2 separate regions of the Homo sapiens genome follow, and region 1 is linked to region 2. The links are contacts of gene promoters, found by promoter capture Hi-C in blood cells and fetal thymus (Javierre and others, 2016). All regions are on one chromosome and are shown on one strand. Each heading gives the region's core, a stretch centred on a gene start or on the middle of the fragment in contact. The rest is flanking DNA. Distances are from core to core; before and after follow the strand shown.

Evidence for each region. Contacts are between HindIII fragments. The CHiCAGO score rates a contact against its expected background, and 5 or more counts as called.
Region 1: a contact is called between a fragment that was not itself captured here and the fragment with the promoter of H4C7 in region 2, in 2 of 17 cell types (naive CD8 T cells and naive B cells). The highest score is 5.6, in naive CD8 T cells.

What each region holds. Positions count from the first base shown.
Region 1 is chr6:27,476,939-27,480,637 of GRCh38, reverse strand. It overlaps TRS-AGA2-2 (tRNA-Ser (anticodon AGA) 2-2), which reads right to left and starts at 1,826; the gene lies at 1,745-1,826. TRD-GTC2-6 (tRNA-Asp (anticodon GTC) 2-6) reads right to left here and starts at 964; the gene lies at 893-964. RefSeq lists a silencer at 852-911. The HindIII fragment of the contact is 1,893 bases long and covers 1,390-3,282 here.
Region 2 is chr6:26,244,803-26,248,722 of GRCh38, reverse strand. It overlaps H4C7 (H4 clustered histone 7), which reads left to right and starts at 1,727. Exons shown (of 1, transcript NM_003547.3): 1 at 1,727-2,112. The coding sequence starts at 1,746. The coding sequence ends at 2,042. The HindIII fragment of the contact is 5,476 bases long and covers 1-3,920 here.

The DNA of each region.
Region 1 (3,699 bases), core at 1,087-3,586, 1.2 Mb before region 2:
TTCCCTCAATATTAGCACATTAAGGATATTCCTATATTTTCTTTTCCTTCTCTCTCTCATATATATACATAAATGTATATTTCTGAACTATTTGACAGTGAGTTTGAAGACACATACCTCCCCTTACCCTTAAATACGTATTTTGTAAATAGGTGTGAATTTTCTTAAAGACATTTTGTTCTATAACCATAGAACAATTAATACAATCAGGAATTCACATTCATAATATTATAAAATCTATAGACTTTATTGAGATTTCACCAACTATTTCAATAATGTCCTTTAAGATAAAAATTCCAGACCATATGTTGCTGTCATATCTTTAAGATCTTCTATAATGTGGACTATTTAGTCAGCCTTTCTTTGTGTTCTGTAACTTTGTTATTTTATTTATTTGTTTATTTATTTATTTATTTATTTATTTATTTTTCCTCCCTGCTTGCCTGTTACTAGGTTGATGCAAAAGTAATTGCAGTTTTTGAGGCGTACAAGTCAGTTATTTTGTTAAAATCTCCCTCAATATGGGTTTGTCTGATGTTTTCTGATTTAGATTACATATTTTTGCCAAGAATACCACAAAAGTGACGTTGTGCTCTCATGAGCACATCCTGTAAAAAAGGTATATAATGTAGATTCGTCCCAATACTGATTCAATCACTTGGGTAAGATGGTATCTACCCGGTTTCTCCACTGTGATGGAGATTACAGTGCAGAGTGGAAATTTTCTTGCTATTACAGAACCTCATGATTTCTACAGCTTATGGTTTTTGCGATCAGTATTTCGTTGGTTTGAAAGAACTCTGCTAAAGAAAAAGAGAACCCAACATTTGCCCAGAAGACTAGAGACTGTGTTTACCGGAAGTGTGCTTTTCTAAAAAAAAGTTTAAGCCTCCTCCCCGTCGGGGAATCGAACCCCGGTCTCCCGCGTGACAGGCGGGGATACTCACCACTATACTAACGAGGAATTGACGTGAAAATGGAGCTCTTAGGAAATCCCTGTGAAGTTACTCGCTATTGTCCATCTTTCTTTGCTCTGTAGTCACACGTTTCCCCTACCAAATATACGCAAGGCAATTCAGCGAACGTGTCTCCGCCCAACCGCGAATCCTCTCCAGTTCCTCCTTCATTCCTCGGACGCTTTGTCAGACCCTTTTAAAAAAGAACTCTCGCTAGCCTCCTTTGTGACGCACTGGTTTCCGTCTATGTTCAACCATGGTTGGAGCCCTAGCTAACATAGGAGTTACAAATCCCGAAAGGTGCATCGGTTGGTTTCAAAGACAGGAAAAGCAGAGGTGGGACCAATACCTGCGCTCCGTTGAGGTAAAATAGATAAAGAGTCTGCAGATGTATTTTTAAAGTTCAGGATGCGTCAAGTGGCACGCAGAAGCTTTATCACGAGTTCCCTCGCCCCCAAACTGAAAGCAAATATGACATCGTATTTCCTCTCTGAAGTAAATACGATTCCTCTCTGTTCTCAGTAAAACATCCCGAAGTCGGCAAAAGTTCAGGCTGCGTTAAGTGGCACGCAGAAGCTCTATTACGAGTTCCTTTACTCCCAAACTGAAAGCAAATATGACATCGTATTTCCTCTCTGAACTGTTCTCAGTAAAACATCCCGAAGTCGGCAAAAGTTCAGGCTATGTTAGGTGACACGCAGAGGCTCTATCACGAGTTTCTTTACTCCCAAACTGAAAGCAAATGTGAGATCCTATTTCCTCGCTGAACTGTTCTCAGTAAAACATCCCGTAGTCGGCAGGATTCGAACCTGCGCGGGGAGACCCCAATGGATTTCTAGTCCATCGCCTTAACCACTCGGCCACGACTACACGAATGGAGAAGGCTCCCTTCACATCTTTAAACAGAATTTACACCAGCTAACTGACAAGAAACGGTCAAAAGAACAAAATACGGTAAAAATGGTTTCCTGGGCAAGAAACTGGAGTCTGCGAGTTCATTAGAAACTCTAACGTGAAGTGCAAGTTGGATAAGACAAGCCAACCTCTCTGGGGCAGCCGCAAGGAGTCCTTGCCCTATCAGCAGTACCGTTTCCAGAAAACTAGAGACCACTGTACCTCTCTCACCTGGACCCAAACTGACCCCGCAAGGAAGTGGAATCAGACCCTCACCGTAAATCTGGGCCTGACACATTTAGTTTTTGTTTGAAACTTCCTCTCATTGAGGCTCCTTGATGAATGCTAATGGCTTTCAAGAAGGGACTAACTTTTGATTTGTGTCTGAACTGGAGGGCCAGAAAATGATGCAGAAAAGCCTACTTGCACTTTCTTGCTCTGATGAGGTCCCTAAGTCTCTAGGCTCACACCAACCCAAGGGAGTATATCTACCCGGTCTCGTTTGCACGGCATTTTGCATTTCACAATGCGCTTCCACGCTTCAGTTGGGTTAAGAAAGAAATTTATAGATTGTTCATGAGTTCCCATGGAACCAGGTTACCTATCAAAAGGAAGATCCTACTTTGATTTTTGGCCAAGGCAGACGCTCCTTCTCTCAAAATCTAACCCACGCAGTATGTTTTCTTTTCCTCTTATGCTTCCGTCTTGAAGTCTAAAGCTGCCGGTCCTGGAGTTTCCCTGAGCCCTTTGGATGCACAGATTATTGTAATTGGCTTTCATCTACTTCTTGGAACCATATACTAATCTAAGAAAAGAGGGAAACAATCGCAAGCTAAGAAATCATGTCGACTAAGTAGATAAATGAGGAAGAGGGACAAGAAGGAAGAGGAAAAGAAGAAAGTGACCAGAAAGGAGAAGAGAGAAAGGAAGGAGGGACAGGAGGTAGAAAGAAGAGGATGAAGGAGAAAGAAGAGGAGGAAGAGGAAGAGGAGAAACGAAGGAAGACCGGGAAGGGAAGAGACAGAGATTTTCTGAGGACCCTTGTTAGAGCTCAGAAAATGATACCCCAAAGTATGGCTCTTGGAAGTGCTGAGTACTTTGAACTAAAGAAGCAACCTCAGAATCAAAGTCTCTCTGACCTTCCGCAGCCCCACTGCCTCCTGATCCTCTTTCTTTCTTGAATGGCAGGGAGGGGCTTTCACTGAAGTTTCCCTTATTTGACTTACGGAGGTTCCTCCAGAAGGAAAGAGATTGTCATGAACCCTCTCCTGGAATCTGTATTAACCAGAGAAGATTAACTCAGATCCCAGGAGAGAAAACTAAAGGTCTCCATGCCCGGGACATCTCGCCCAGCCAGACTTCAATTCTTTTCTTCACCACCTATTCTGAGGGCTGCTACTTGAGAGACTTTATCTGTATAATAAGACAAGCTTTGTTCCCAGAGCTGTTCCTGCCCTGACCCTCACATTGCTTCTCGCCACCACCTTCCAGGAGCCTTCAAGCTCCTATTTCTTTATGTAGCTCCAAGTCCTATTTAAGCTTCAACCATCTGCCCCTTCTTTGAGTCTCACTTACACTTTCTGGGACCTCTGTGCATATGTGCATAATAAATGTGTATGCCTTTTCTTCTGTTAATCTGTCTACTAGCAGCTTTATTTCTCAGACTCAAATATCCAACCTCCAGAAGGGAGAAAAAAGATTCTCTCACCCCTACAGGCTCAAAAGAAGACTAAAAGAAATTCACTAGTTTTATGGAAGACCATAATTTGAGGGAATAGACATGAAGCAGTTTGATGGGGTAGCCAGGTGTCCATACAAATATAAGTTGTGCTATAGATTGTTGTTCATA
Region 2 (3,920 bases), core at 478-2,977:
GCTTTTTGTTGTGGTGACCTGCTCATTAGGCCATAATTCATTTATGCAGTTACATGATTTTTTAGATATTGCTGACCCTGCTTCAAAAACCCATGATCTTTAGGACTGTTTGTTTGGTGCATCGTAACTGCACAATAAAAAATCCATTGTTATTTTGAACATTCTATTTTAGAGACATCATTTATTTCCACTTAAATGCTCTCGTTTAACTAGCTCAGCAAGTATTTTGTAATGTAAAAATTTAGTGGTGCTTATGTCTTTATTTTGGCTTGTGAGCAAATTCCCCTTTTCTCCTATTAACATTTATGACAGCTTTCCCTGAGTTTCCTGTTGTATCAACCCCAGAAGACAGTCACCCCCTGTACCTTCTGTCCTCCACATGAGAACAGGGCATGGAGCCTCTGGCAATTTACATTATCTTTTTTCTGGGCAATTCTTCATTGCTTAATTGTATAGTGCTTAATATAAGTGAAAGCACACTGAATGTATTGGTGTTGCAAAGGCAATGTTTTAAAATCCTTCGGTGTGCTTTACCTCTGCATTATTATTTTGTCTGTAAAAAAAGGCTGTGGCAATAAGAATTCGTTTACCAACTGGCCGGTGAGGTGGCTCACGCCTGTAATCCCAGCACTTTGGGAGGCCAAGGCGGGCGGATCACCTGAGGGCAGGAGTTGGAGACCAGCCTGGCCAACGTGAAATCTGGTCTCTACTAAAATACAAAAATGAGCCGGGAGTGGTGGCACATACCTGTAATTCCAGCTACTTGGGAGGCCGAGGTAGGAGAATAGCTTGAACCCAGAAGGTGGAGGTTGCAGTGGGCAGAGATTGCGCCATTGCACTCCAGCCTGGGCAACAAGAGCGAAACTCCGTATTTTAAAAAAAAATCATTTACTAACTATATGCCAGTGTTTTGCTTAAAGTAACTCAATTATTAACAAGTATTTACCCTTTTTACAGATAGGGCCATTGAAACTCAGATTAACATGTCTAATATCGGTGAGAGAGCAGTCACTCACAGATTCGAAACCAAAAACCAGGCTACTTCTCTTTAGCTGGGCGGCTTGGCAATATGATTAGGAATTCTTTTATGTCTTGGAATTTGGGCTTGTTTCAACTTCAGCATGGTAAATGCTCTAATATACAGGGAAGGAGTAAATCTTTTTTTTTTCTTTTTTGAGACGGGCTTCGCCCTTGCCCAGGCTAGAGTGCAGTGACGTGATCTCGGCTCACTGCAGGCTCCACCCCACGGGGTTCATGCCATTCTTCTGCCTCAGCCTCCTGCATAGCTGGGACTACAGGCGCCCGCCACCTCGCCCTGCTAATTTTTTGTATTTTTATTAGAGACAGGGTTTCACCGTGTTAGCCAGGATGGTCTCGATCTCCTGAGCTCGTGATCCGCCCGCCTCGGCCTCCAAAAGTGCTGGGATTACAGGCGTGAGCCACCGCGCCCGGCCAGGAGTAAATCTTTAAACACATACAGACATCAAAAATCGAGATACTTTCCTCTAGGTACATGTTTGACACTTTCGTTTAGAGATCCTTATTCTCTAAATGCCAGCAAATCTCCCTACTACAAGAGAATTTCTTATGTCTTGTTATTACTAGAAGTAGATGAGCGGGGACTGAATACGTTTTCCCGCCTTTCCTGGTCTTTCAGTTTTCAAAAAGGTCTACTCTACCGTTATATAAAAGGCTGCGGAAAGCGAGTAATCGTTTTGTTTAGAGATAGTTCTGACTTGTTTATCATGTCTGTTCGGGGCAAGGCCGGAAAAGGCCTTGGGAAAGGCGGTGCCAAGTGCCATCGCAAGGTACTGAGCGATAATATTCAGGGCATTACCAAGTGCACTATCCGGCGCTTGGCCCGGCATGGCGGTGTCAAGCGCATCTTGGGCCTCATTTATGAGGAGACCCGCCGGGTGTTCAAGGTGTTCCTGGAAAATGTGATCTGGTACGCCGTGACCAACACGGAGCACGCCAAGCGCAAGACGGTCACCGCCATGGCCGTGGTCTACGTGCTCAAACGCCAGGGAAGAACCCTGTAAGGCTTTGGCGGTTAAGTGAGGCCAGGCCTTTCCTTGCAATATCGTTAATGGCCCTTTTCAGGGCCGCGTACGTTTTCTTCCGAAGGGCTCACGTTTGACATTGTGGAAACTTAACTAACGCACTCAGCAATATTGTGTGTTTTATTGCTGTAGGTGCCCAAAAGCTGTTAGGTGTATAATGCTGTAAAGTATAAATTTACGCCAAGGCTGACATACAACATGGAATACAGGTGGTAAGTTAATCGTGTGTTCAGAGATTAGAAATCTGGTGGGCTGGCTGAGGACATCAACGGCTACATTGTCACTTAAAAGCTCTCAAAATGTGGTTATGGTAGTGTGTTTTTCTCCTTACTGTTAGGATTACCCTCCGTAATTAAAATTGTAGTTTTAGTGCCAAGATAACCCGACTTTTATATTCTGCTTAATAAGCAATTTCAATAACCAGAGAATACACAATAATTAGCACAAACTTGCCAGGTGCCGTTCTGACAAATGTGTCTGCAGTGGAGGGACTGGCCCCCTTGCTAGTTCAATGATCTAATTTAGCAGCACTAAAAGAAGTTTACCTGTTTCGTGCCTTTGCTTGTGATCCATCGTAAATATAGAAACACCTTGATAAGGTGTAACTGCAATAATTCGTGTCTCAATTTACTGTTTATGAAAGTACAGGGGTCAAAGAGCCAATTAAACATCTCAAGAGGGGGAAAAAACCTTCCAGAATGTGGAACATTTGGGACAATTGCTTTGTTCAAAAAGCCACCGAGAAAAACTGGAGGACTTTAAGTTTGAAGGAGATTAAAGTAACATAGCAACTAAATGTATTAATTGCATTCTGTCTCTAAAGTTTTAAAGGGCATTTTGGAGATAATCAAGGAAACTTGAACGTGAACTGGATAACAGGTCATTTTAGTAAGTTTTTAAAGAAAGGTTTGATATATTGAGATTACATGGAATTTCCCTTATTGTTAGGGGTTAGATGCTGAAGTGTGTAGGTGTAAATTCTCATGAGTCTGTCATTTACTTTCGGATGGTGGTAAAATCCACTCTATTGAATGTAGGTAGTGGATGACTGATAAACCCATCTTTTGTTATGTTTTATTCTGAATATTTTTATAATAAAAATTTGGGAAAAATTAACATAATAAACTGTTACAAACTCTGGTGCCATCACGGGAGAGGTCTCTGAACAGGTAAGTGTAAAAGACCTGTCTGCAGAGAGAGGATGCAAGTAGCAGGACACTGAGCCGCATGACACTTGTCATATGCAGGCACATTTATTCCTCTTGCTCTCACTCATCATGATCAGCTGTTAGCCAGAGGGGAGGGACATGGGAACAGGGCAGTTCAGGTACTGTTGGGAGAGGGTAGGTCTCCACTAGTGTGAAGACACAAGGGGCAATAAGTAGTTTGATGCCATGGAGACTGGGAATACATATATGACCAAAGATGCATGCCTGGCAGTTGCCTGATTGAGGAGGGCCTCCTCTTGCAAATTGAGAAACTGAGAATTAACCTTATGCTGTTGGAAGCATGTTAATGAGGTGTGACATGGAGAAACTTGCATTTAAGTTACATCAATTCTTTTGGATATTATGGCCATAAACTTTGTGCTGTGTAGTGAAAATATTGGGTTCTGCTAAGGTCAAGACAGGAAACAAGTAGCTTACTCACATGGGATAATTGGAGGAGGGTTTCTTAAAGAAATTATTTGCAAATTAAGGGCAGGATACAGAAAACTAAAAAAGTAGTGCCTCCATCCAGGTCTAGTAAGGATCACTTATAACCCTGAAGGGGCATGGGAAGCAATTGCTATAGCTGCAGAGAGAGGGATCCCTGGTCTGGAGAGATGCTGCTAACAGCCAATGAAAGGGAAACTGG